Linked DNA regions of Homo sapiens: all the other regions are linked to region 5. The links are contacts of gene promoters, found by promoter capture Hi-C in blood cells and fetal thymus (Javierre and others, 2016). All regions are on one chromosome and are shown on one strand. The core of a region is centred on a gene start or on the middle of the fragment in contact, and the rest is flanking DNA. Distances in the headings are between cores, read along the strand shown.

Evidence for each region. The method cuts DNA at HindIII sites, captures the fragments that hold promoters and counts their contacts. A CHiCAGO score of 5 or more calls a contact.
Region 1: a fragment that was not itself captured here is called in contact with the fragment with the promoter of KBTBD8 in region 5 in 1 of 17 cell types (endothelial precursors); the score reaches 6.5 in endothelial precursors.
Region 2: a contact is called between a fragment that was not itself captured here and the fragment with the promoter of KBTBD8 in region 5, in 5 of 17 cell types (naive CD4 T cells, activated CD4 T cells, total CD8 T cells and 2 more). The highest score is 9.2, in naive CD4 T cells.
Region 3: a fragment that was not itself captured here is called in contact with the fragment with the promoter of KBTBD8 in region 5 in 2 of 17 cell types (M0 macrophages and M1 macrophages); the score reaches 7.8 in M0 macrophages.
Region 4: a contact is called between a fragment that was not itself captured here and the fragment with the promoter of KBTBD8 in region 5, in 7 of 17 cell types (naive CD4 T cells, total CD4 T cells, total B cells and 4 more). The highest score is 8.5, in naive CD4 T cells.
Region 6: a fragment that was not itself captured here is called in contact with the fragment with the promoter of KBTBD8 in region 5 in 1 of 17 cell types (M1 macrophages); the score reaches 5.2 in M1 macrophages.
Region 7: a contact is called between a fragment that was not itself captured here and the fragment with the promoter of KBTBD8 in region 5, in 4 of 17 cell types (M0 macrophages, M2 macrophages, M1 macrophages and 1 more). The highest score is 13.8, in M0 macrophages.

Annotation. Positions count from the first base shown.
Region 1 is chr3:68,898,719-68,903,128 of GRCh38, reverse strand. All of the region lies in intron 1 of TAFA4 (TAFA chemokine like family member 4), which reads left to right. Among named protein-coding and RNA genes, the nearest start is that of TAFA4, 32 kb to the left of the region's middle. The HindIII fragment of the contact is 5,376 bases long and covers 1-4,213 here.
Region 2 is chr3:68,058,275-68,062,448 of GRCh38, reverse strand. All of the region lies in intron 2 of TAFA1 (TAFA chemokine like family member 1), which reads right to left. Among named protein-coding and RNA genes, the nearest start is that of TAFA1, 56 kb to the right of the region's middle. The HindIII fragment of the contact is 2,159 bases long and covers 1,845-4,003 here.
Region 3 is chr3:68,917,506-68,921,783 of GRCh38, reverse strand. All of the region lies in intron 1 of TAFA4 (TAFA chemokine like family member 4), which reads left to right. Among named protein-coding and RNA genes, the nearest start is that of TAFA4, 13 kb to the left of the region's middle. RefSeq lists an enhancer at 2,236-2,838. The HindIII fragment of the contact is 5,451 bases long and covers 1-4,278 here.
Region 4 is chr3:68,869,815-68,873,771 of GRCh38, reverse strand. The region is part of intron 3 of TAFA4 (TAFA chemokine like family member 4); the gene reads left to right. Among named protein-coding and RNA genes, the nearest start is that of TAFA4, 61 kb to the left of the region's middle. The HindIII fragment of the contact is 7,699 bases long and covers 1-3,957 here.
Region 5 is chr3:66,996,662-67,000,672 of GRCh38, reverse strand. KBTBD8 (kelch repeat and BTB domain containing 8) reads right to left here and starts at 2,366. Exons shown (of 4, transcript NM_032505.3): 1 at 2,302-2,366; 2 at 1,482-1,692. The coding sequence starts at 2,317. RefSeq lists enhancers at 546-645, 2,609-2,708 and a silencer at 1,949-2,268. The HindIII fragment of the contact is 2,180 bases long and covers 223-2,402 here.
Region 6 is chr3:68,959,329-68,963,367 of GRCh38, reverse strand. No RefSeq gene overlaps it. Among named protein-coding and RNA genes, the nearest start is that of TAFA4, 29 kb to the right of the region's middle. The HindIII fragment of the contact is 6,744 bases long and covers 1-4,039 here.
Region 7 is chr3:68,986,780-68,990,645 of GRCh38, reverse strand. EOGT (EGF domain specific O-linked N-acetylglucosamine transferase) reads left to right here. Exons shown (of 18, transcript NM_001278689.2): 11 at 1,629-1,721; 12 at 2,069-2,140; 13 at 2,265-2,351; 14 at 3,133-3,201. Among named protein-coding and RNA genes, the nearest start is that of EOGT-DT, 24 kb to the left of the region's middle. The HindIII fragment of the contact is 3,818 bases long and covers 1-3,290 here.

The DNA.
Region 1 (4,410 bases), core at 276-2,775, 1.9 Mb before region 5:
TTGAGTAAAAGCATTGGCTAGCACTGTGCCTGCCATTGTTACAGGACAGATAAATGTTAACAAGAAGAGGGAGGGTGCTGGGATGCTCTCCAGAGTCCTGTCCCTGATTTTTTTTAATTTTTTCAGTTCCTTTCGTCTATTATAGAAATGGCCATTGATTGGGAGAACCAATGATGTCTGAAATTACTTATTAGATTGAAAATACTTTGGAAAGTGATTTTACTAACTTGGGTTGTCAGGTTTTCTCAAGCAGGATCTGTTTGCTGATTGCTACTTTGCATAATATTGTAGGATGAACAGGCCTGCTTCTTGTTTGGATGTCAAGTGTTTTCATGTCTGATAAGGTTCTGGTTGTTTCTCATACCCATGTACAAAAATATATACATATAAGGGAAACATGTTAATAGAGGAAGACCAAAAGACAAGGTTGTAACTAGAGTGTGCATACAAAATATGAATGAGGCTGGACACAGTGGCTCATGACTGTAATCCTAGCACTTTGGGAGCCTGTGGTAGGTGGATTGCTTGAGCCCAGGAATTCGAGACCAGCCTGGGAAACATGGTGAAACCATGTCTTTACAAAAAATGCAAAAGTTTTTCAGGCATGCTAGCATGTGCCTGTAGTCTCAGCTATTCTGGAGGCTGAGGTGGGAGGATCACTTGGTCCTGGGAGTTCAAGGCTGCAGTGAGCCATGATCATGCCACTGCAGTCCAGCCTGAACAACAGAACAAGACCCTGTCTCCAAAAAAAAAAGTGAATGATATAGGTATTATCTGAAAGAAAATGGTGGTATGGGTAAAAGAGAGGGAAGAGTGAATGCATTGATTGTGGAATACCTGCTTTGAGATCTTAGAAAGACAGAGTTGCCCGATGGTTAAGAGGGCAGACTTGGGAACCTGGCTTCATATTCTAGCTTTGCCACTTGGTAGCTGACCTTGGACAAATCACATCACCTCTCTGCCTCCACATATCCTTCTTTGTAAAATGGGGATACTGATAGCAACTGCCTCAAAGTACATTAGAGGGGATTAAATGAGTTAATGCATTGAAAATTCTTACAGCAGAGTTCTTATATAGGCTCTAGAAATGATTTTAACTGCTGCTGTTATTAATGATAACAACTATTGTTAGTACAGGTGCAATTTACAGAGCCCTTCACTATACCATGCCTCATTTGAACATTGGACGGACCCTGGTAGTTATTTCCAAATCTATTTTCAGATAAAGAGCTTGAGGTTCAGAGAGGTCTAATGATTTGCCCACTGAAAGGATGTAAACAGTGAGGACAAGAACCCAAGCCTTGGGTTGGCAAGATCTGCCCTCCTTCCAGTGTGTTCCACTGTGTTTGGTATCAGCCAAAGTCAGCTTTTGCAGTTTGTTTCAGATTTTACAAATAGAGAGGGCTTATCCTTCAAGGATCTAGTGCTATTCAATATAACTTTCTGCAGTAGTAGAAATAAATGTTCTAGAACGGTACTGTCCAATATGACAATATTACCATATGGAGCTATTGAGCACTTGATATATCGTTCCTGGAACTGATGAACTTGATTTTAAATTTTACCTAGTTAAATTTAAATTTAAATAGTCATGTGTGGTTAGTAGCTACTAATTGGGTAGCATAGACAGAGTTTCCCTTGTCTCAGAAGGCTTGGGTATAAAGCCCAGCTCTACAACTAATTAGCTTTGTAACTTTGGGAAGGTAATTTCTGGGGGCTCATTTCTTCCTATCTATGAAATGGGCTAATTCTATTTAGATCAATACAGAACTCCAGCGAGGCCAAGCAAAGATAAGAATTTTTTTTTTTTTTAAGTGAAATAGCTGTAGGAGTTCTTGAGGAATTCAAGGGAAGGCACAAAGGCAGGCCAAGGAAAGTCTTGGAACTAAAAATAGAATGACCTTCAGGGACCTGGATCATCCTCTTCTAGTCTTATTTCTGTTTTGTGTGCATCTGTGTCACTCTTGTCTCTGTGAAGTCTGGCTTTCTTTGTACCCCCTGCATGGATGAGGAAAAGCTGGCCACCTCATACCTCCTAAATTTATATATTTCTCCCTTGACAGCTAATTCTGGAATTATTAGCTGTTTCTCATTCTCAATTCTAAGTTGCAGGAAGAGGAAAGTTCCCTTGGCTTGGCTTGAATTAGCCATGGGTGGCTGAACTACATAGCAAACCATGCTGCCCTGCCCTTTCTTAGAAGGTTTGATGGGGGCTGGGGATGTTCCTTAGTGAAAGCAGTAGTTGTGAATTGGGTCAATGTCTAGGAAAGTATCTTTGGTTAAAAATTTCACTGCAAGGTGGAAACTGTGATTGCAAAACCAAATTTATTAGGTAAAGGAAATGGGATAGCCTGATTAAGTTTAGGTGTTCAAATCCATTCATTGATTCAGCAAGTATTTGTTGAGTGCTTTGAACTTGCTCTGTTAAGGGCTAGAGATGAGAAACAATACTGAGAGAAGAGGCCTGATCTTTGCCCTCACGGAGCTCCAGTTTGATAGGGAATTCTCACGAGAGTATAAAAAGGCAGTTCTAGAGAGTACCAAGAAGAAAAGACTAAAATTTGGGATTTTAGCTAGTGAGTAGAGAGTGCTTCTCTGAGGCAGTAATATTTGCCCTGAGATATGAAGGATGAGTAGGAGTTAACTTAGTGGAGGACAGAAGAATGTGTTTGCCTCTGAACAGAAGGACTGCCATGTGCAAAGACCCTGTGGCAGGAAGGCTGGAAAAAGCTGGATACTATTGGAATTATATTGCTTCTGTTCCTTCTGGCCCCAGTTACCAAAGTTACTATGGAATTAATGGTTTCCAGGCAGCTTTATTATTATTATTATTATTATTATTATTGTTATTATTATTATTATTATTATTATTATTATTATTATTATTAAGAGAGAGTCTCGCTCTGTCACCCAAGCTGAAGTACAGTGGTGCAATCTCGGCTTACTGCAACCTGTGCTTCCCAGGTTCAAGTGATTCTCATGTCTTAGCCTCCCCAGTACCTGGGATCACCACAGCCAGCTAATTTTTGTGTTTTTTTTTTTTTTTTGTGTGTGTAGAGACAGGGTTTTGCCATGTTGCCCAGGTTGGTCTTGAACTCCTGAGCTCAGGCAGTCCCCTGCCTCAGCCTCTAAAAGTGCTGGGATTACAGGTGTGAGCTACCATGCCAGGCCTATTATTTTAATTAAAGGTTAAATGTCTTTTAGGTGGTGAAAATAAATTTGCTTTCCAGATATTAATTTTTATGTTACACTGCATATTATGGTGATCTGAGTTTTTATATGCATTTCTTCTTTTGGGGATGAATAGTACATTTAATACCTTGAAGGCATAAACTAGGAAGAGAGGTCATTCTCCCTAGTCTCTTGTGTTTTTCTGCTTTGGAAGTCTCCTAAAGTGTGTGGTGCATCTCTTGTGTGTTGGAGTTATGGGATCGTGACCTAATATTTCCTTATATAGGTATACTTGCTGCCAGGATGTTTCCCTGATGCCTGAACAAAGCCTTGATGAGTGAATTTGCGTTTGAAACTGTGGACTCGACATAGAAATTTCTTAGGCCTCAAGTTCTGGTTGTAATGCGTTATAAATGTGAACTGCTGCTTTTTTAGATCCTGAATAGGAGGAATGGCTTCCTAGGCCTTTATCTGAGTCAATGATGTCAAACCATGGAAGAAGTTTAAGAAGCCTTCCGTAAATGCCAAAACTTTTTTTGAAATGAAGAAAAAAAAAAATCCAGGGTATATTATTGTCTGTGGAAAACCACTTTTGGTTATACCAGTGTGCCTGAATTTTATGTTTAATTTTCATATTATATTTTATTTAGCTGGCTATGTCTAAAATAATATTTCTACATGGAATATTAAAAATTATTAATGAGGTAGTTCTTTTTTCTACTAAGGCTTTAAGATTTGGTGTGTATTTTACACTTAGTATCTCAGTTTGGATGCTAAATTTTCTTTGGAAATATTTTAAAGGTATTTCATTTATTTCATAAAGTTTACACATGAAAAAGTAGATATGTGGCTGAAATTTATGTGATGTATTTCCTACGCAGCTATGGCCAGTGTTGGGAAGACTCCATCTTTAACAACTGCATCCTCAACCTGAGAAATACTCTGAGTTGGGCTTTCTGTAGTGTCCAAACTTCAGTCTTCGGAAGGTCTTGGCTGACCACTTACTACCCTACTTCAATTCCCCTTCTTGTTTTCTCAAGCTTTTTTTCTGGTCGACACTCCCTTTTCTTCCCAGGTAGTGGAATCTCCCAGCCTAGTTTGGAATCCTGAGTCTACCACTAATATTGTATACTTGGGTAAGTAAACGGGTTTACTTATTTTCTCTCCTGTTAAACAGAGATGTAAACAAAACAAAACAGACTTCCTTACAGGGTTATTCTAAGGATTCAACAAGATGAG
Region 2 (4,174 bases), core at 1,675-4,174, 1.1 Mb before region 5:
ACTAGTCTTTCAGGACCTGCGCATTATTTTAAATGACAAAAAAACTTTGCTTATTTGACCATGTTTGTGGCATCTCTTTGAAAGATTTGCCTAGGATCACAATATTGGGCCTGAAGCCCCATATGGCAACTACTGGTTGAAACTGAGTAGCAGAAGTCTCCCTTAACAAAAGCATAGGAGCTTCAGTTTCCTGCAGTCCTCACCATCCCCTGTTGCGGTGCCCTTGATTCACCTTGATAGTCTATATTACCTACCTCCTCCCAACCCCAGAAATAGCTTGGTTTGAGACTACTTAGTCTACACAAAAATAAGATTATTAAAGAAAAAAATAAGTGATAGTCACTAAGAGGTTTTGGCTGTTAGAAATGTAGTAGCAAAAGATCAACTGATAGCATCTAAAATAAAATACCACATACTTATGTCTAGTATATGTTTTTTGGAAGCATTGAACCCCCTACCATGTCTTTGGAAACAAAAACCATATCGTTTGAGGTATCACTTCTACATTTCCCAATAAAAAGAAAAATTTCTCTTTGATGAGGGATAAATGTGATATATTCAGGGCACACAAAAAGAGAGAAACCATGCTGCACCAGTGGTTCAACCTCCCCCTCCTTTCCTGAAGGGTGTTTTGTGGAGAAAGATGACCTCATCCTCAAAAATAGAGACATTTCTTGAGTGTTCATAATGTACCTTTAATCGTCAACTACAGTTTTATTCTTCATGTACATATCTGCTCTTTTTTGGAATCTACTTCCCTTTCAAGACACTGCACATGATCAATAGTGCTTATGACCTATGCAAAATGCACCTGTGATTCTGGTCTTAAATCACTGCTTTCAAGCTTCAAGCAAATCCCCCTTCCCAGCTTTCAGTGATGTGATAAACAAGTGTATTTTCATCCTGCCTGTACCCTCTTTAATTCTGAGGATGTATATGCCATTCCTACTCAGACCTTGTATCCCTGCACTGATTCCCACTATGCCTTTTAACCTGTTCTCATGGAGAAATCATTCTAGCATGCTGAATGCACTCGGTCTCCTTTCTCAGGACTTCTCTCAGGACACACAGACTGAATTACATGTAGAATTCCTGAAATGGGAAGTTTATACAAACAGAGAAATTTATCAAGCACCATAATTGTTTTTAAAATTATATATCATTTTCATAATCAAGATGAAAACACAACTCTCAACCTGACACTTAATAAATCTCCTTTTCAAAGTCTTCTAGCTGATATATACCGTCTGCATATAGCATCAATGAGAGAGACAGACTCGCATATGCCATGTCATGGAGCTTTCCACGGGGAAGTTTCACAGTATTCTCATTGGCTGCTGTCCACTCGGTTTAGGCAGATATTTATTTTCTACAACTGTTAGCTCCATCTCCAAACAAAGCTGAGAAAGAGATCCAGAGAGAGCCAGCAAGAAAGAGAGTACACACACGCTAAAGAGGAATATGGTCAGTACACACTTGAACCTATGTCACACCCACTGTGGATCTGTTGAATCATCCATCCTGACAAGCTGGTTTGTGATGGTGAGACTTGAACAAATCCATATTTTCATTATATAGCGCCTAACCACTAACAAGAGCAATCAAAAGCCAGCTAATTGAATTATCCATGAGCCCATTTAAAGAAGAAATATTGCTCAATAAAATTATACAGCCTTTCTCAAGCCCACCCCTCCAACTCTTTTATCTTTTCTCTAAGGTATATGTACGTGACATCCATGACAAAGACCCACAGCTCAACAGAGACTGACCCAAGAGACATGGAGGCCAGTTTCTCCACATTCACAGGGGCCAGAGTAATGTTATGCATAAGCAAACAAGAAGCTTACTGTAAAAACATGATGCAAGGATTTCTGGAGAAGGACCCACCATCTCATTTGCTGGTCTAGAATAGTCCACACACCTGTCCGCTTCTCTGCCTGAAATTCTACCGGCCTAGTTTCACTCCGTCAAGGTAAAGTGTTATGGCCTAAAACAATGTTCTTTAAAAATATCTGCCCCAGGCTAACTTGAAGTTGCATCAGTCAGTTTTATGGCCAGTGTCTGCCTTTGCTTGTTTCTACCCATGGAAACCATGTAATTGAAGCTGCTGTGTGGAGGTGGTGCCACAGGAGAAGGCTGAGGAAGACAGGGATTGTGAAAAATTGTGAGGGCACTGGCAATTTAGGAAGTTGACATCCCCAGAGGGAAAAAGGAGATTCTGAAAGACACACACACACACACACAAACACACACACACACACACAGTTGCAATGGTGGACTTTTGAGGTGATGAGGCACATAAGTCAGAGAAAAATATGGAGGCATCAAAAATAAATTTTCCTTCCCAGTTTTTTGTGCGTGTGTGTGTGTTTTTTTTTTCCTTCAGTAAGCCTTGATTATACATGGAGCAAGCCCCTTTAGCATTCAGGAGTAAATTCTCACTTCAGCCTAAAGAATGCCGTGTGCTTAGCTGGCTCCTCTAGCCCCCAGAGGAGGAGGCCAGGAACAAGCCTGCGGGGGCTCCCCAGCTGCCTCCCAGGAATAGATTTATTTGCACCCAGCAATTTAGGCTTAGGTGCTCTTCTAAGTAAAAACAATTATGCTCATTCCACCCTGGCACTTGGGTTAATAATTCCCAAATGAGTCAGTAAATCAAACAAGCACACTTTTACAAAAGATCTTATTTTCTCTGATTCTTTAATTCATTTAGCTAGGGCTGGCCCTTGGCTAAACTGTGGACTAGATAAAGACTATTCATTATTGGCTCCCTATATCCCAGGCCCCTCTGTCATTGTGCAGACACACACTGAGTGCCCCTTTCTTACTGTAGAGGTCAAGATACTGCTGTGGTCCCTTACCTGCATCTGCACTCTCTACCCAGCATTCCCCCTCTTGCTCTCAAAACCCACCTGTCCTGTGTTCTGCTCTCTCAGAGATGGGTACTGTTCCTTCCAGGGTAGCTTATTAGTAGGTAGAATATAGGCTGTGCAGCCTGGCTCCCTGAGCTCAATTCCCATCTCTGCCATTTACTAACTCTGTGACCTTGAGGAGGTTACTTAGCCTTTCTGTCTCAGTTTCCTCATCTACGCATTCAAATAATAGAATCTACTTTCCAGGGTTGTTATAAGGAACAAATGTTTCATATATATATAACATTTCTGGTGTGTGTGTGTGTGTGCATGCGTGTGTGTGATTAGTGTGTGATTAGTGCTGTGCCTGGCACTTTCCATGCACCCAACGAGCATTTGCTATTGCTACTATTATTATAAATGACATATAAGTCATAGTCCTCCAATTGTATGGTCTTCTTCTCCAGGCTGTTCACACAAATTTTCTCCAATATGTCTTCTCAGCTCCTGGAGAAAGTTTGAAGAGGCAGTAAAGAAGTGCTTTGATATCATTTATACCATGAAAGTGATAGAAAAAATAACTTATTACTCATTATCATGTGGGAATTTTATATATAATAGCAAATATCTCCACAATTTGGTCTCATCTTCAGCAATCACTGGGTGGCTTCTGATCCTGAAACCTCCCAATTTACAACCCTTTTTTGCCTTGCCACCAGAGCTCATCTTTGTAAATAGTTATGGACTGAACCCAAAGATACAGCAGCCATAGAAAACGTTATACAAGCCTTTTTCTATGGACTATTCATTTAAAAATAATAAAACTATAGCTTTTACACGTCTGAAAACAGGTATCAGTATACAACTCTGTTCAACAAGCAGCAGCCAGTTGTTTTCTGAGAGACATTACTAAATGTGTGTGGCTTTGTGTATCGTTTTAAGAACATTTTTTTCTTTACCTCTGGAATTTAGAAACTTATTATATTTTCAAAATTGACTCAGCAGTGAAGAACTGAGAAGTCAATCTCAGCTATGTCTATTAATAACTCAGAGATCTTGTGAACATTCATTATCCTCCCCAGGACTCTATGTGTCTATCTGGGAAATGGTAAGGGAGAGAAGGGGAAAATGATCTTACAGAATTGATTCAAGCTTAAACACCCATATGTGAGAACACCTTATAAACTGAGATCATCACAAAATAAAGATCATTATTGTTATGTTGCAATAATAGTCAATGTTTTTGAGCTGTTATTATGTACTGGGAACTCTCTTAAATGCATTTTCTAAATTATCTTGCTCAATGCTTATAACAACAATATAAG
Region 3 (4,278 bases), core at 1,193-3,692, 1.9 Mb before region 5:
GGCTTCAATTTCCATATACTTTTGAGTCTGATTTAAATTGTAATCCTATCGGCAGGTGACATACAGGAATTCCGTTTTTGTTCCTGTATAGTTAAGACTCGGCAGATGTTAAAAGCTGATGTGGATTTAAGATTTCATTCGTTCTGGGAATAATCGAAGATTTAGTCAGGACCAGAAGATGGAGTTGTAGACAGAGTTATAGGACTTGAGGGGGTATGGAAAGTTTTGCACAGATGCCTGGCTTATTGCTTTCTCCTGCCACTTGGAGGAATAAATTATCTTCTGCATTTGCTTAAATGAAAAGCCTTCAGTGGATTTCACTTTGTCTTGCACTGTCTAAAAAGATTAAAAGTTTGCAAACTGAAGTCTCTTTTGAATAAGAAAACACATGTAAAGAGCTTGCTTTTTTTTCTTCACTTGTTTAAAAAAATTGGAAGTTTGTGAAATATTTTGGAGATAATCTGAGTTATAGAAATGTGTGGGTGTTGGCAGGAAGGTTAGAATTGGCAACCACCAAGCAGAGCGGATGGACTGGGTCAGAGTCATTTAACCTCCTTCGTCTCCAGAGCTGTGTTTTAATTACATAGCTGGTTTGTGGAACTGTGATCCCCTCTTGCGGGCAGCAGGGTGTTGCGTGCGACTAGGTTTGTACTAATACTTCCTTAGGAGCCATCAGTCACTGTTGTCCCCTCGGCAGGTTTTCACATTGGTCATCTCTGCCCAACTGTCAAGATGCTACAGTTCTCCTCCCTGGCTGCCGACCCTTTTGGCCTTTGTCCCCCCAGCACTCAACCCCAGACAGTTAGAAGATGAGGTTTCCAAGTTGAGTGGCAGACGAAGGCCCTGCTGGAGATGGCTTCTATGGAAGACTAAACAGCAGAAGCATCCAAACAACAAAATTGTCCTAATTTTTTTAAGAACAATATCTGCTTTTAGAAAACCATAGTCTTTGATTTACTGTAGAACATGGCATGTGTGGGTGGTACTGTCTGCTGGCTGGGAATGGCTGCTTAGTGTTATTACAGCCACTTAGGCTGCATTGTAGGGGATAGTGGTGCCACTGGTCATAATACAGGGTCACAGTGACTTTGTAGAACTCCTGCAGGGAATACACAAGTTGTAAAAAAAAAAAAAAAAAAAAAAATTAGAGAAAAAGTAAAAATCACTTCTAACTCTCTCTACAACCCATTTCTATCTCTCCCTTCTCAGATACTATGAAGAGTTTGGGCTTCTGCGCATATTTAAAATATTTAGTATACATTATGTTTCAAAGAAATCCAAACATGAGCAGGAAGAATGGACTGATGAAGACCTGGTAGATTCTCTCTTATCATTTGAAGTTGATTTGTATCAATGCCAACTAATCAACAGAAATAGGAAGCATATTTGGCATTTAACTTTATTTAAAAAGTATAATGTGAAAATATCAAAATATATTAAACTTTGCTATTTATGTTAGTTATGTATGGTTACTAAATATACAGTCTTGTGTGTGAATTTTTTCACTTAAGTAGTGTCATTTTATACATCTGATTCTATAGTTTGTATTTTTTTGCTTACTGGTGTCTTGGAGATTATCCACGTTTATACATACACAGGTCTCACTCATTCCTTTAACTACCATATAGTGTTCCACTATGAATGTACTGTATTTTATTTAGCTGTTTCCCTACAGATGGGCATTCAGATTTTTCCCAGTTTTTTCTACTACAGAGAGTATGATGATACCATTCTTGAACAAAGTCATATATGGTGTTAACTGAGATGTGGTGTTTACTGTTTAAAGCCTTCTCATAATTACAATCTCTTGGTACCCATGTGTTTGCATTTTTCTAGGGTAGAAGTGTAATTGCCTGGTCAGAGGGTGTGTTTTAGAGCATTAAAAACACCAATGCACTAGTGGCTTGGGAATGTGTCTGGAAAACGTGGGGACTGCAGAAAGTCTCTTATCATTATGTTCTCTTGGAATTCAGATATGTTAACTCCAGAACAGGTCAAGTCCTAGACATTATCAATAAAATCTGTAAGTAGAATCTTACAAATTCCTGTATGTTTCAATAGAACTTCCCTGTGATGGTGGAAATGTTCCAAACTTCTTGCTGTTCACCGTGAGAGCCACTAAGCAACATGTCACTTTTGAGTACTTGAAATGTGGTTAATGTGACTCAAGAAGCAAATTTTAAATTTTCTTTAATTTTAATTAATTTAGCTTTAAACTTAAATAGCCATGTATGTGTAGTGGCTGCCCGATCGGACAGCGCTGGTGCAAGGTATGCATCATCATAAAAGGTAAGGCCATTGTAATTTACTACAGTCCCAAAAAGTTTTAGAGAGTGACTCATGGAGAAATGGAAGTGTAGTCTATTTTGTTCGATCAGGGGCTCGAGACTCTTGAGCTGAAAATAAGGTGATAAGTAAGTGAATGAAAACAAGACGATGTCATTAAGATTTATCAGGCATTTTCCTCCTTGTTTAGAGACTCCTGTCTGCTCTGTCCTGACGGGGGCTGCCTGCTGGAGCTGCACAGTCCTACTGGGGCAGTTCTTTGTAAAGTGAATTGATGGCTATGTAAATACAGCCATTAACCTTAAGCACCTCAGACAGCTCCTTGGGCGCTGCTGTTTTCTTGCCCTTGAAAATGCTGGTTGATGGATGCCAAGATGTTTTTTAAAAATTGTTTTTCCTAACTGGTTGAAGCAGTGGACTTGGGAAGCTGCAGGGAAGGTGACAGAATTGAAGGCCTACTAAGTGTGAATCCTATGGCAGGGGTTTGGAATTTCGTTCTTACAGAGGGATATTTTGAAGGTTTACTCTTGGTATACAGGAAATAGGATGCTGTATATGTCTGTGTATATGGTATTTTTAAAAAACAAAGTGAATTGCAATTTGAAAGTGCTGGTTACAGAAAGTTTATAAAAATCTGGTTTTAAAGCAAATGGAAGAGGCTGGGCATGGTGGCTCACACCTGTGATCCCAGCACTTTGGGAGGCCAAAGTGGGCAGATTTCTTGAGCCCAGAAGTTCGAGACCAATCTGGGCAACATGGTGAAACCATGTCTGTACAAAAAAATACAAAAATTAAGCAGGCATGGTTAGATGCATGCATGTAGTGCCAGCTACTTAGGTGGCTGAGATGGGGGGATTGCTTGAACCAAGGAGGTCAAGGCTGCAGTGACCCGTGATTGCACCAGTGCATTCCCGCTTGGGTGACAGAGCAAGACCCTGTCTCGAGCAAATAAAAATCAAATGAAGTTTTATAATTTAGGAATTTTGTATATATTTTAAAATTAGACATAGCTTGCAATGAAAACAAGAGCTTCTTTTTCGTTTCTTGAAAGACATTTTTAGAAGTAGATTGAGTGAGGATGACAGAGGCAGAAGATGGATAAGATTCCCATGTTGAAAATCTATCTGGAGGTAGGACAAGCAAAAGTTACATTAGAAGTAGGGTCAGAGGATGACGGTTGACAGTGCGCTGATTTTTTCTCCAGTGTCATTTGCGACCTCTCCCCCTTCCTCTGAGGTAACCACACTGACCATCTCTCATTTCTTACCATACAGTGAATGTGTTCCTTCCTTGTTCGGTGGCTCTGTACCTGATTTCCTTTCCCTGGAATGTGAAATGTGTTTGTGTGTGTGTGTGTGTGTGTGTATGTGTGTCTGGCTTCCTCTCATTATTTAAGTCTCAAATGTTGTCTCATGAGAGAAAACCTTAAGCAATAAATCCCTAACCTACTCAAAGCTACAAAGATCTGGCCTGCTATAAAGTACTGATGGGAGTTTCCAATTGATGACTATGTGAAAATGCTTCGAAAACTACAGCTCATTGTATAAACGCACATTATCATTACTCCTAAAGATCTGCCAGAAGCCACGTTGCCATCTACCAACTTGTCCTGATCGTCCACAAACTGGGTGTCAGAGTGAAAACTCAGAAGTGTTGAATTCAGAGCTTAGGTTTCTACCTTCCCACTTGGTTCTAGGTAAATACCATTGTTCCTGGGAACTTTCTTTTTTTTTTTTTTTTTTTTGAGACAGAGTCTCGCTCTGTCGTCCAGGCTGGAGTGCAGTGGCGCGATCTCAGCTCACTGCAACCTCTGCCTCTCGAGTTCAAGTGATTCTCCTGCCTCAGCCTCCCGAGTAGCTGGGATTACAGGAATGTGCCACCACGCCCGGCTAATTTTTTGTATTTGTAGTAGAGATGGGGTTTCACCATATTGGTCAGGCTGGTCTCGAGCTCCTGACCTCGTGATCTGCCTGCCTCGGCCTCCCAAAGTGC
Region 4 (3,957 bases), core at 1,342-3,841, 1.9 Mb before region 5:
GGAAAGTCTTATTTGTTGTTTAGAAAGCATTTGCAAGAAATAGTGGGAGGCTTGTCTTTCAAGTGGCACTTTCAAAGGCTGGTTGGATTTGAGCTAGAGAAATGAACATGTGAACATGTTGCTGTTTTCTGCCCTCCCTGCAAGTGTCCTGTGGTCATTTTACAGGCTTTTCAAGTAAGTGTTGCCCCGTGGAGGACAGTGATTTCTAACTATGCATAGTCTATATGTTTGAGCTGTTGCCGGCTAAACATATCCAATAGGAAATAATACCCAAATTGAAAGGGAGAGAGCAGCTATTAATATGAATTACTTGTCTAGTTAGTTGCTTTCAGGATACCATCTAGAAATTGGAAACATTCACAGAATGGCTAGGTCAGCATTTTTCTGGCCCAGGGTGTGTGTGTGTGTGTGTGTGTGTGTGTGTGTGTGTGTGTATGTCTGCGTGTGTCTGTCTGTTGTGTGTGTGTCTGTGTCTGTTTCTATTTGTCTTCTCCTGGAAAACAAGTATGACGTTGTTTGATCTCTCCAGGTGAGAGCAAGGTTGTTAGCCTCTCCTACCTTATGTTGTACTGATCTGGAATTTGTTTTCTAATGAGCCTGATGCATGCCTCATAGGTGTGTGACACATCAGAACCTGGATTGTTTCTATAAGTCACTGAGACCTAAGTTTGAACCCTACTAATTTTAGAATTTGTAATGGAATGTGTGATGAAAGATCAGCCTTGAGATGATACGGCTGATATTTACCCATGCTGTCTATGAAAAGGGATTTGCTAAGCAAATAAATGGTGTAAATATATTTACCAAGGAGCTGTTCACGTTATCTTAAAAAATCGTCAAGTGCTTTGGAAGCATTTATTTAACATGAAGTCAAAATGCTTGTGCCTTCTCTCTGCAAAGTCCTACCTATGTGACCCTGGGCAAAGTTATTTAATCTCTCTGAGCCTCAGTTTCTTCTTCCTGGAAGTGAGTATTACAACATCCCCTACCTAAAAGTATTTTTGTGACATGAAATGAGACAATTTATCTAAAGAGCTTGGTATTATGTCTGGAATTTAATGCATTTTCTTATTTATTATTGCTACATAATAGTTGTGCATATCTTTGGGGTACATGTGATATTTTGATACATATATACAATGTGTAATGATCAAACCAGGACAGTTGCAACATCGATCACCCCAAACATTCACCCTTTCTTTATGTTGGGAATATTGTGATTCCTCTTCTCTAGCTATTTTGAACTAAAACTAAATTATTGTTAACTATAGTTACCGTACCATACTATTGAACACTACCTCATATTTCTTCTCTCTAACTGCATTTTTTTAAACTATTAACCTCTGTTCATCTCTCCCTCCTCCCAACCCTTCCTAGCCCCTGGTAACCACCAATCAACTTTCTACCAGTATGAAATCTACTTTTCTAAGCTCTCACATATGAATGAGAGCATGCAGTATTTATTCTGTGCCTGGCTTATTTCAGTTAACATAATGACCTTCAGTTACATCCGTATTGCTGCAAATGACAGGATTTTATTCTTTTTTATGACTGAATAATATTCCATTATATATATATATGTACCACATTTGCTTTATCCATTCATCCAGTGATGGACACTTACGTTGTTCCCATATCTTGGCTGCTGTAAATATGGCTGCAATAAACATGGGAGTATAGTTATCTCCTTGATATTCTGGTTTCCTTTCTTCTGGATAGATATCCAGCAATGGGATTGCTGGATCATTTGGTCCTTTTAGTTTTAGTTTTTGAAGGACCACTGTATTGTTTTCCACAGTGGCTGTACTAATCTACATTCCCCCAATGATGTATGAGTGTTCTCCTTTCTCCACATTCTTGCCAGCATCTGTTATTTTTTGTCTTTTTGATAAAAACCATTTTGACTGGGGTGAGATGATATCTCAGTGTGGTTTTGACTTGCATTTCCCTGTTGATTAGTGATGCTGAGCATTTTTTCATATACCTGTTGGTCATTTGTATGTCTTCTTTTGAGAAATGTTTATTCAACTCTTTTGCCCATTTTAAAACTGGATGGTTTTTATTTTTTGCTGTTAAGTTGTTTGAGTTCCTTATATATGCTGCTTATTAATTGATTGTTGGATGGATAGTTTGCAAATATTTTTGGCCTTTTCATAGGTTATCTTTTCACTTTGCCGATTGCTTCCTTTGCAATGCAGAAAATTTTTGCTTTTGTGACCTGTGCTTTCAAAGTCTTACTAAAAAAATTTTTGCCCGGACCAATGTCTTGAAGCATTTCCCCAGTTTTTGCTTCTAATAGTTTCATAGTTTCAGGTGTTAGACTTAAGTCTTTACTCCATTTTGATTTGATTTTTGTATATAGTGAGCGATAGGGGTCTAGCTTTGTTCTTCTGCATATGGTTTTTCAGTTTTCCCAGCACCATTTTTTGAAGAGACTGTCCTTTCCCCAATATAGGTTCTTGGTGTCTTTGTCAAAAATGAGTTGGTATTGTAAATAGTGCTGCAATAAACATTCGTGTGCATGTGTCTTTACAGTAGAATGATTTATAATCATTTGGGTATATACTCAGTAATGGGATTGCTGGGTCAAATGGTATTTCTGGTTCTAGATCCTTGAGGAATTGCCACACTGTCTTCCACAATAGTTGAACTAATTTACACTCCCACCAACAGTGTAAAAGCATTCCCATTTCTCCACATCCTCTACCGCATCTGTTGTTTCCTGACTTTTTAATGATCGCCATTCTAACTGGCATGAGATTTTGGAACCAACCCAAATACCCATCAGTGATAGACTGGATAAAGAAAATGTGGCATGTATACACCATGGAATACTATGCAGCCATAAAAAAGAATGAGTTCATGTCCTTTGCAGGGACATGGATGAAGCTGGAAACCATCATTCTCAGCAAACTAACACAGGAACAGAAAACCAAACACTGCATGTTCTCACTCATAAGTGGGAGTTGAACAATGAGAACACATTGATACAGGAAGGGAAACATCACACATCAGGGCCTGTCGGGTGGGGAGCAAGGGGAGGGAGAGTATTAGGACAAATACCCAATGCATGCCGGGCTTAAAACCTAGACGGTTGGCTGATAGATGCAGCAAACCACCATGGCACATGTATACCTATGTAACAAACCTGCACATTCTGCACATGTATCCCAGAACTTTAAAGTAAAATAAAAATTAAAAAAATGAGTTGGCTGTAAATGTGTGGATTTATTTCTGGGTTCTGTATTCTGTTCCACTGCTCTATGTGTCTGTTTTTATGCTAGTACCATGCTGTTTTAATTACTATGGCTTTGTAGTATATTTTGAAGTCAAGTAGTGTGATGCCTCCAGCTTTGTTCTTTTTGTCCAGTTCGGATTGTTTTGGTTATTTTGGGTCTTTTATGGCTCCACATGAATTTTTGCATTGTTTTTTCAAGTTTTGTGAAGAATGTTACTGGTTTTTGATAGAGATTGCATTGAATCTATAGACCACTTTGGGTAGTATTGACATTTTAACAATATTAATTCTTCTAACCCATGAGTATAGGCGTGTTTCTTTTTTTGTGTGTCTTCTTCATTGACTTTCATCAATGTTTAATAGTTTTCTTTGTAGAGATTTTTTGCATCTCTGGTTTAATTTATTTCTAGGTATTTTATATTCCTTGTGTCTATTGTAAATGATGTTGGTGCCTTGATTACTTTTTCAGATTCTTTGCATATAAATGCTATGGATTTTTATATGTTAATTTTGTATCCTGCAACTTTACTGAATTCACTTATCAGTTCTCAGTGTTTTTTGTTGGAATCTTTAGGCTTTTCTAAATGTAATGTCATGTCATCTATGAACAAGAATGATTTGTCTTCTTCCTTTCCAATTTGGATGCCCTTTATTTCTTTCTCTTGTCTAATTGCTGTGGCTAGAACTTCAAATGTTATGTTGAAAAAAAGTGGTAAATT
Region 5 (4,011 bases), core at 1,117-3,616:
AACTGTACCAACTCTTGTTCCTTAAGAGTCATATGGCTACTAAGAAGCCTGGCTCTGTAATCAAATGTAGCCTCTGCCATTTACTTGTTGGATAGATGATTTAGGCAGGTTATTAAAACTCAATCTCACTGAGCCTCAGCTTCTTCATAAGTAAAATGGAACAACAACTATGCAGAGATAGGATTATAAAGATTATATAAGGCAATACATGTAAAGTAAGCTTAGCCTAGAGCTTGATAAGTAGTAACTGTGACATATATTTAAACATACAAATGACCTAACCATATCTAATAGATAATCTGGGTAAGTGAATCTCACTAGAAGTTTCCATTACCAGGCCAAACTTCATACCTTCTGCATATGTGAGTTTTTTTTTCTTTCCAGCTCACTGTCTTGCGATGATTAATACTTAGTAGTCCAATGACCTACCCTAGGCAAGTCTAAACGGTTACATCACAAGCATCAGACTGAAGTGACTATATTTAACCCAGTATTCTGAGAAAGAGGAACCAGAAACTACTGTTGGAACATTATATGGTTATGTGCCCTATAAAGGTAAGCACCTTCAAAAGGAAAAATCACATTCAGAGTGTGGTTGATAACTTTACTATTATTTATGCACCACTTGTGAATACTGAAAGGCTTAAAGTGAGCATTTGACACAAAAGAAGTTAAGCCCATGCAGAAAACTGCCTTTTCCACTCATCTTAAAGTAGGAAGTTATTTTTCAGACCCAAGTTTTTAAATTTTACTTTTAAAAGTTTTATAGTAGACAATATAAGTAAAAACAAAAACTTCGTTTAACATACTTCTAGAAATCTTGGATATTATTAATTTGGGGCCTTAGGCACAAAGAAACTATATTCATTCTTGCTTTGACCCCCATAGCATTTAAACAATCTATTGAGTGGTAATTTGTTTTTGAAGGAACATGCTACATGTTTTAAACTATTTTATAAAAGAGTCCCATACACTAAAGAAACATGCATTATGGATAACTTTTTGAAAGAAATTCTAGATCAGCACTGTCCAATAAAATTGTCAATGATGAAAATGCTGTATTTCTGTGCTGCCCAATATGGCAGCCACTAGCTGCAGGTGACCAGCAAGCACTCAAAAAGTATTTAGTGTACCTGGGGAACTAAATGTTTTATTTTATTTAACTTATAATTTAAGTTTAAACAGCCACACATGGCTACTGGCTTCCATACTGACCAGCACAAGTCTAGATTTTCTGGTCATTTACCTCAAACACACACACACAGGCCCACTAACTTAAAAAGCAATCACCCGAAATCTAGAAGAATCCCTCAAGTCAAAAGAAGGTCTTAGTTAAGAGAGGACTTGTTTTCTAGTCTCAAGAAACAAAGTCATTGGTTTCATTTCATTATCGCATCTCAATATAAACATCAAGTGGACAATACTGAGGGGGAAAGGGAGCTTGGTGCAGATACCAACAGAAGTTCCTACCATCATCATACCTGAAGTAAGGGCTGATTGCAGCAAGAACGTTTCTATGACAGGAAAATGTTTTCCCGTGATCCACTTCCACTACAATGTCTGTCAACTGTCCTTCATCGTACATTGTTTTGAGTTGCTTAAGAATACTGCAAGCATGGAAGGGGTCCATGGCATCGCTGGCTGGGTCTGAAGATGGAATCCCATTCGGTGTTGGGGAAGACTTACTTAAATCTAGGAGGAGAAAAATCGTACAACTACAAGAAGTGCCGAGCCAGTTACGGCATCGCGGGATTTTTCTGTTTGTGTGTCTGCTTGCTAGGCTTTTTCCCCCTACAAGATATATACAAATGTCTGTGGATATACGCACGACCTCGTGGGACCGCGAGTTAAGGATCTGGGAGACAGAGGGCGGAGCGCGATCGGCGGAACAAGTTCAAAGGCCAGCCTGCTCCTGCGGAGCCCGGCGAGCCCGGCACCCGTGCTCGCGGAGGAAACGCGCTCGCAGCCCAGGAGAGGCGTCTGCGCGGACTCCGCCGAGAGCCGAGGGCAGAGCCTCACGAGGGAAGCTCGAACAACGGCGGCCGCCGGTGCCCCCTCAAGCCGCCTCCCGCTGCCTCCTGGGGCGCAGCGCCGGCGGGTACCCAGCCTCCCCATCCCGGTCCCGCCGGACCGCCCACCGCCCTCCGCACCATTCATCCTCCCTCTTCTCATTCCCCTCCACCGCTTCATCCTTCCCTCTAGCTCCGCACCGCTACGTCCTCATCCCACTGCCTGTGGCCGGCCCCGGCCCACCTTCCCCCTCACCTCCCTCCACGCCGCCCTGGCCACCACACGACCCACCTGCCGACGCGGCCATTTCTCGATGGGGCCCCGACTCCAGCTATTTAAAAAGGAAATGTCATTTCGCTTCTCTAGCTCCCGGGTTCCGGCTCTTCTAAGCTTCCCCTGGCCAATGGGGTGTCCTGTGCATCTGGCTCCACCCCTAGCCTCCGAATTCCTGGCGCTGATTGGCCACGACGCGAGCACATGCGTGTCGGGAAATGTAGTTTGATTGCCCCGGCTCCCGCGTGGTCCGGGTCGGGCGGAGGCCCAAGCCGGGAATTCCTATTGGCTGATTCGGATGGAGGTGGAGAGCAGGGAGCTGGCCAGCCTGTGGCCGTCGAGCGCGCAGTGCCTGCCGGGAGAGGTAGTCTTCTGGCGGAGGAGAACTGTCATTCTGAGGGGCTGGGGTAGGGAAAGCTCTTCAAGTGCGAATTTCCCCATTTTAGGCCTCTCTCCTGGCCCCCGGCACATTTTTTTACCTTTTTCTTCTTCCGTAAACTTCCTGCCAGTGACTAGCTTCCGGTATGAAATCAAGCTCTGCGTGAGAGCTGTAAAACCAGAAAAATGTGGAAATGGACAGGAGGGCTGTTGTCCAAAAATGCAAAGGAAATCTGACGTCCCACCCTGAAGAAAAATATCACAAGGCCCAAAAGCAAGGCGTCTCTGATGAGTCACCTATGACACCCAATTGAAATAGCATCGCCTTGGCCGGGTGCTCTGGTTTCCACAGATTAACTTGGTCTGGTTACAGCGGCTGCTTAGGATCTTCAACTCCCACTGGTGCCTTGCTTTTCTAGCACACCCAGAGAACACCTGTTCCTCACGTGAACATTACAAGGGGATCCAAGATGCTTTACTTTTTGCTCTTGGGAAATGGAGGGGATACAATACTAAGTATTCCGGAATTTCCTTTGAAAAAATACCGGAATGCCCTGAGCCCGGAGCCAGGGATGATTACTGAAGCCCTGGCTCTTTAGTCACTATATGTGAGAACTGACATAAGACCTTTCAACCCCTGAGCGCTTAGATCCTTCATCTGTAACGTGAAGTAATAGTAATCCGTACTCCATGGATTTCATAGGCTGCAACCTTTTGGAAAGAAAATCAAAATTTTACTGTTGACGAATTTTTATTTACTCATCTTGTGTTTCTAACATCTAACGGGGTGCCTGGCACATTATAGATGTTTCATATTTTAAAAATAAATGTAAGGTGCAAATGAGCTAACATTGGGAATGCTATTTCTAGATGTTAAAATGTAAGGAAGTATCAGCGAATGGGAAGAATTTCTAGTAGACATATAGTTAGCCCGTGTGCATAACTTTTCTAGCACTGAAAAGATCAAACCGTTGAACTTCTTGATAAAGAAAGGATCTTGGAATTTAAATTGTGATTGAGAAAGAGAAATAATTATGAAAAACAATTCAGTTCTGTCTTCTAGGTCTGCTGAGAAATTTAGAACTTAAAATACTATAATCCCATGCAAGTTAACAGGAAGTGGTGTTTCCTCATGACTGGGGTTTCTGCATATACATATGCACTTATAATTTCTTCTTTGTGAATGTCCTGTATGCACGTTTCTGGATAGATGAAATTGACTTAATTTTGGTTACTCATAACTTTATTTTTTCGTTTTTATGATGTTGCTTTCTAATTTATTAAAATGGTAGCACTTTATGACAATATGGTTAGTATTGAGGAAAAAAATGGCGTTAATCCTTAGGGTTT
Region 6 (4,039 bases), core at 1,044-3,543, 2.0 Mb before region 5:
ATAATACTAACTCCACTTTAAGTCCAACTTATTTTTGTAACTACTATGTATATAAAATGTATAAAATGGTTTGTATAATCTTGAAATGACAATTTGCAACTGTATTTTCTATGATTCTATAGATGCATTATTTAAGATGCAAATTTATCCAACTTCTTTCAATCATCTTTTGTTTATTTGCCTTGATTTCTTTTATCTGAAGCCTTTTTCAATTTAGACATATTTCATCCTAGGAAGAATATCCTAGTTGCTTTTTATTAATGCTCTGTTTATTAGACCAAAAAAAGAAGCCCTGGATTTTTATTTTATTTTTTAGAAGGGCTTCAGATAACACAGTTGCAGATCCACTGCTACTTTAATGACTAACTGCTGAATTATAGGTTTCCTGATTTGACATGTATTTAGAAAAAGCAACAAAATGCAATTAATCTGATAGTAATAGGAATGGAAGTTAATATTGGCCTGAAGCTAAATTGCTCATTGTAAATATCTAGCCTGAATAATTTACAATCACAAATGCTTACTTCTGGTTCCTAAAAATGTCCCTCAGTTGCTGCCTGTACAACTCAGATTGTCCCCATTTTTCAGAGAATTCTATCCAGACATTACCAAGGTGTTGTCTTGGTCACTGTAACAGTGACAATGACTTTCTTTGCACTTTCCTGGGTTCTTCTCTTTGCAAATGGAGAGCCCCGAACGGCATCTCAGGGCATGCCCTTGGTGAAGGGCATCTCAGCTCACAGATTGCCTGCTATATGACCTTGGGCAAGACATTGAACCCCCCACTCCCTGGGCCATAGTTTAGGAAGACCTACCTTAAAATAATTTCTGTTAAGGATCAGCAAGTAAAACCTGGTCTGTTACAGGAACTCCAAAAAACTCTGGCACTCCGAAAAAGGGAGAGAAAAATGTGCTATAATATTTCACTGGTTTGGTTGGTGAGGGGAGCACATCTCACTTATAACTCCCAGGCCCAGCTTGGGAAATTATCACCAATTGTAGGGTGGCTCTTCACTCCTCTCTGCTTCTTTCCCCATTACCTTTTCCATCATTTCTACTCAATAATTAATATGGAAAGGCTTTTCTTTATTGAAACAATGCTCCCAAAAGGTTTTTTACATCTTCTCTAGGTTGTTTCACTTGCCTTTTATCTGAACACTTGAAACACATTTAGACAGAATAGGTTTTATCTGTTATTTTTGTTCCTTTTTATTTCGTATGTAGCTACTACTTGTAGTAGTATTCCATTATAGAAATATATAAAAATACTGCTAGAAAAAAAATCACCTAAAGGATACCATATTTCTCCATCCTGACTTAAGCTGTGCACACACACCCCTCCACAACACTCCCTTAAACACATACATTTACACAAATTTTACACACATATATGTATGTAGAGGTAACTTCTTTCATGTGAGGCTATATATATGTGGGTGTGTGTTTGTGTATATGTATAATAATATATTCATTAAATGCATATTGTGGATAACCTGTTTACTAACAGGATTTAATGAATACCTCTCCACTACCATACAATTATTTGCATCAACATTTTAAATTTCTGTGGATAATTTCATTAAGCCAATCCCATATTGTTGGACAGTTAGACTCTTTGTATTTACTATTAAAAAAACAACTGCCCTCAATATCCTTGCATAAAAATCTTTGTGCATCTGTCCAGTTACTTCCTTAGGATAAATTCCTAGATATGGCACTACTGGGTTCCAGGGCATGCACACTCTTAGGGATTTGATCACATATTGATAAATTTAAATTTCCATCCAGAAATGTGGCACTTTTTTTTTTTTTTTTTTTTTTGAGAGATAGAGTCTCACTCTGTCACTTAGGTTGGAGTGCAGTGGTGTGATCTCAGCTTACTGCAACCTCTACTTCCTGGGTCCAAGTAATTCTCCTGCCTCAGCCTCCTGAGTAGCTGAGACTACAGGCATGCACCACCATGCCTGGCTAATTTTTATATTTTTAGTAGAGATGGGGTTTCACCATGTCGGTCAGACTGCTCTCGACCTTCTGATGTCAGGTGTTCCTCCCGCCTTGGCCTCCCAAAGTGTTGGGATTACAGGCGTGAGCCACTACACCCAGCCAATGTGGCACTTTTAATCTAACCCCTCAGCAGAAATGTGAGCATCCAATTACCCCCCCCTTATTCACTGGATATTCTAAGTTGATGGACGCAGAGTAGCAGAATAGCTTTTACACAAAATATTGTGTGAAATATGGAAAAGATTTCACATATGGGATCAATCTGGTTTCCTATATTGAAACAATTCTAAATACTCTGGTTAGCAAGGCAAGTTTCAACGCTGATGTACAAGACAAGGATCATGACTGAATAGAAAGTATATCTAGCTCTACAGGGCTGGACCACACACCAGGAACTATTGTTTTTGATTGAATAGATCAAATAAAAGAGCAGTGGCGTACATTATTTAGACAGCTCAGTGGCTGTCACTTCTCAAACTAGGTTAAGTAAAAAGGGCTACACAGGTTAATTAAAAGATAACACCATGCAGTTGGACACAGTGCTTGGGTAATTGTTTCTTCCACTAAGGTAAGTATGCAATGCATATCATAGAGGTTTAGAACAAAAAAAAAAAACTTGTGTGACAAAAATGGGACCTTTGTATTTAAAGCTGAAGTGCTCTTCTTATGTTAGATATTTATAACCTAGACACATAATGAAACATTTTCAAAATTATCTACAAACATTGAATAGCAATACTGATCAGTGGACTTGGATTGTTTGTAATTGCATAAAAAAGATGACATTAAAAAACCTTTTTAGGGGCCAGGCACAGTGGATTGCTCTTGTAATCCCAACACTTTGGGAGGCCAAAGTGAGCAGATTGCTTGAGCCTGGGAGTTCGAGACCAGCCTGGGAAACGTGGCAAAACCCCATCTCTACAAAAAATATGAAAAAATTAGCCGGGCATGTTGGCATGACTACAGTCCCAGCTACTCAGGAGGCTGAGCAGAGAGGATCCACGGGCCCGAGAAGTCAAGGCTGCACTGAGCCATGATTGCACCACTGCACTCCAGCCTGGGTGATAGAATGAGATTCTGTCTCAAAACAAAACAAAACAAAAAAATCCCAAAACCTTTTTATATGGTTAGCTTCCAAGATACGCAAAAGTAGAGTGAATAGTACAATGGGCGCCCACATACCCATCACTCACTCACAAGTCATCAATATATGGTCACTCTTATTTTATCTATACTCCACTCCCTCCTGCACTGGATTATTCTGAAGGAAATTCTCAATGACATATCATTTTATTCATAAATATTTTAGTGTACGGAAAGGTGATTTTGACAGATTGATCCCAGTTTAGTTTTTTGATCCAGCCTTATCAGAATATCTTTGGAAAACATGATTAATTATAGAACCTCAGAAAAATCATTTGACTTCTCTAAGTCTCAGTTTCCTCTTCTGTAAATGAGATACTTAGACATCATAGTGGTGATACAAGGATTATAGGAGATAGTTCAAGATAACATAACATCAAAGTGATGAAAAAATTTAAATAATCTAAATAATCATCATTGCCATTATCATCATTGGAATTCAGATTTTATAGGTAAATGACACAGGAGCATTGAAAAGTGGAGTAATAAGATGTAGGGACTTAACCATAAAAATGAACAATATAATGGCATTCACAGAAACCTGGTTGGAGTTGGAGACCATTATTCTAAGTGAAGTAACTCAGAAATGGAAAACCAAACATCGTATGTTCTTGCTTATAAGTAGGAGCTAAGCTATGAGGATGCAAAGGCATAAGGATGATACAGTGGACTTTGGGGACTCAGGGGGAAGGGCAGGAGGGGGGTGAGGGATAAAAGACTACACTTTAGGTACAGTGTACACTGCTTGGGTGACAGATGCACCAACATCGCAGAAATCACCACTAAAGAACTTTTCCATGCAACCAAACATCACTTGTTCTTCAAGAACTATTGAAATTAAAAAAAAAAAAACAAAATATCAAAAATTTCAAGCCTGAAAAAAAAAAGATGT
Region 7 (3,866 bases), core at 132-2,631, 2.0 Mb before region 5:
GCTGGGTGTGGTTTCTGTAATCTCAGCACTTTAGGAGGCCGTGGTAGGCGGAGCACTTGAGCTCAGGAGTTTGAGACCAGCCTGGCCAATATGGTGAAACCCTGTCTCTATCAAAAGATACAAAAATTAGCCGGGTGTGGTGGCGTGCGCCTGTAATCCCAGCTACTCGGGAGGCTGGGGCAGGAGAATTGCTTGAACTTGGGAGGTGGAGGTTGCAGTGAGCCCAGATCACGACATGGCACTCTAGCCTGGGCAACAGGGTGAGACTCAGTCTCAAAAAAAAAAAAAAAAAAAAAAGCATGTGGTAATTATACTGGAAAGAACTAATTCCTGCTGAAAGGCAGCTGTCAGATGGAAGTGGCAGCACAGGCTGGGTTGAATACCAGCTCTATAACTCAGCTGCTTCGCAATGTAGGCAAATGACTTAAAATTGTGTCTCAGTTTCCTCATCTGCAAAATAGAGAAAATGATATTATCAACTCATTAGGCTTGTGGGTGGCTTAATGTACATTAATAATATCAAGTGCCCAAAAAAACTGCCTGGAACATAGGAAGTATGTAAGATGCTATTATTATTATATAAAGTTGTTATTGACACCATTAATATTAATGGGAAATTACCACTTTTTATTCACTAGTCAATGGGTGGGGGGATATTTCATAGAATTACATATGTTATATATTTTTATTTTATTTTATTTTATTAGAGACAAGGTCTTGCTCTGTTGCCCAGGCTGGAGTATATGGCATGATCATAGCTCACTGCAGCCTTAAACTTCAAGGCTCAAGTGATCCTCCCACTTTGCCTCCCAAAGCGCTGGAATTACAAGCATGAGCCACTGTGACCAGCCTATATTTTTAATGTTAAACCTTTCTTTTTTTTTTTTTTTTTTTTTTGAGATGGAGTTTCGCTCTTGTTGCCCAGGCTGGAGTGCAATGGCATGATCTCGGCTCACTGCAACCCCCGCCTCCCAGGTTCAAGTGATTCTCCTGTCTCAGCCTCCCGAGTAGCTGGGATTATAAGCACATGCCACCATGCCTGGCTAATTTTTGTATTTTTAGTAGAGATGGGGTTTCATCATATTGGTCAGGCTGGTCTCAAACTCCTGACCTCAGGTGATCTGCCCGCCTCGGCCTCCCAAAGTGCTGGGATTACAGCTGTGAGCCACCGCACCCAGCCAGTGTTAAAACTTTGAACCCATTTTCTTGCTCTGAAATTTTTTTCCAAAGATTTTTCATTCACCCTGATGGTTTTTGCACACTGAGCATAAGAGTGTGTGTAAACGGTGGCATAGTGTGTGTTGTGTGTATCTATAATTTGGATAAGATGTTCACAGGAAAAAGCCCTGAACTACAAAGATGTGAGAATAAAAGAAGTTAAGGTAGAAAAATGAAACACTATTAATGGCTAAGAGTATAATTGTGATAATTATTTCTGATGATATTTCATCAAATTAGGCATTTGCTCTGGCCCAAGATGAAGATCCATTTTGCTTGTATGGATTTTATGAACTTGCGTAGGATTGTTAGTTTTTAACACAGGCAAATTCAGGTATTTTGTTGCATCTTTGAAAAGTCATGTTATATCCTTTTATTGCCCTAAAACCTTGTTTTGTTTCTACTTTCAGAGTTCTTACGGATATGGTGACCTATTCTCCGACACATGGAATGCATTTACTGATTATGACGTTATACATTTGAAAACTTATGATTCCAAAAGGGTACTGGAAATTTTCCTGAAATGTCTGTGAATATTTCTTGAGTGCAGATGACTCACTCATAAAATAAACATTTATTATGAGTTCCTATTAGCCATTACCACTGATTTCTGAATTTCTGAATTTCTTTTATAATTAGAATCCTCAGTGTTGTTAATCATGCAGCCTTTGAAAAGTTTTTTCTATAATCTTTCCAAAAATATGAATTCTGTTCTCTTTGAATGAAATAGTGTGCTATTCAAGCAATGCAAAATGGAGATTAATTAAAATCTATTTCTCAAAATTATACGTGCTATTTTTGGTGTGAAGGGTGCAAATTACATCTTCTTTTAATGTATCTTTGTTCTTAGGTATGTTTTAAAGAAGCTGTTTTTTCATTACTCCCCCGCATGAGGTATGGGCTGTTCTATAATACTCCTCTGGTAAGCACATTGTCTACCATTAGCATTCATATTTACAGACATAACATTTATACATAAGTTGACAGTATCTTAAATTATAATACAGAAGTATTCATTGTAATATGAACCAGTGTTTTTATTTTAGATATCTGGCTGTCAAAATACTGGACTATTCAGGGCATTTGCCCAGCATGTACTACACAGACTAAACATCACACAAGAAGGACCTAAGGTAATGGATACACTGCGGATTCTGAGGTGGGCTTGAGTTTTCTTCCCTAATAAAAATCGATACCACCTTTTCAGAAACAGAAATAATCAGGAGACCATGTTTTTGTGTTAACATTTTCTGGGGAGGCCAAGGCAGGTGGATCACTTGAGTCCAGGATTTCAAGACCAGCCTGGCCAACATGGCAAAACCCCATCTCTGCAAAAAATACAAAAATTAGCTGGACGAGGTGGCATGTGCCTGTAGTCCCAGCTACTCAGGAGGCTGGGGCATGAGAATCGCTTGAACCCAGGAGGCAGAGGCTGCAGTGAGCCAAGATCATGTCACTGCACTCCCGCCTGGGCGACAGAGCAAGACTGCCCCAAAACAAAACCCAAAAACATTTTCTGACCTGGAGTCATCTGAAACCAGGTGTCAAAAACCTATAAAAGAGAAGCTAAGGGATATTACAAGAATGTGCTTCCTCCTGTCCTCCTTTCCCCCTTCATTGGTTATATCTCCCTCACCTCCCCAAATGTTCATGTAACATACACAACCCCTGCCAAAAAATTCACCCACCCAACCAAACAGACAATGTAATGAGCTGGTTTTTGCCTTCGGTGGTTGAAGTGGATACATTTTTATTCCCTGAGAGTGGTGAAGGAATCAAGCTAAAAAAGAAGAGTTCTATTAATGTATCCTGGTTGAGTTTCATCTCTTTGTGAAAATCACATTTTGGGTTCAGATGTTCATTCATCTACCCAGGCATATGCAGTGTTATTTTACCGTTTCATTTTGATTACAGGATGGAAAAATTCGAGTCACCATTCTTGCACGGAGCACAGAATACCGGAAAATCCTTAACCAAAATGAGGTTAGTTTTTGGTATGCATTTTTAATGCCTTCATATTCAATTCATAGAGCAAATTGTGTTTTTTTTTTTTTCACATTACGTTAAAAGCTTTGGTTTAAAACTTAGTTTTGAGAAAAGTTTGATGGCCTATGCCCGGTTTATTTATTAGATTTGAATTTCTAGTGAGATTCACCAAACCACCCATAGACAAACTAGCTTTGCCTTATAGTAAATTTCATCTGCATCAACTCAGCATGGAAAAAGCTGTCAGAATCTTGCCTTGACTGCAGTAGAGGGCATCCGGACAGACAAGTAGCAAAAATGTAAGACTTTCTTTTGCATAGTTGATGCAACAGATGGTTGAGGCCATTAATCCTGTGGTATCAGCAGCAGATTTAGTTGGAAGAATCTCTGTCCTCTTACATGACCATGTCTTAGAAACTGCATTTTCAGCATCCTTACTCATTTCAGTAGCACCAACTCATAAATTACATTTAACCTCAATGAGATCACCATGCAAGGCCACTACCTACAACATCATGGCCTGAAGATAGCCTCTCAGTAGTAAGAATTTATTCTACAATAGTTAATTGAGCACCTGCTATGTGTCAGGCCATGTTCTAGGCCCTGGAGATAGAGTAGAGCAAAGACGGGGAAGGTGCCTGACCTCATGGAGCTTACACCGT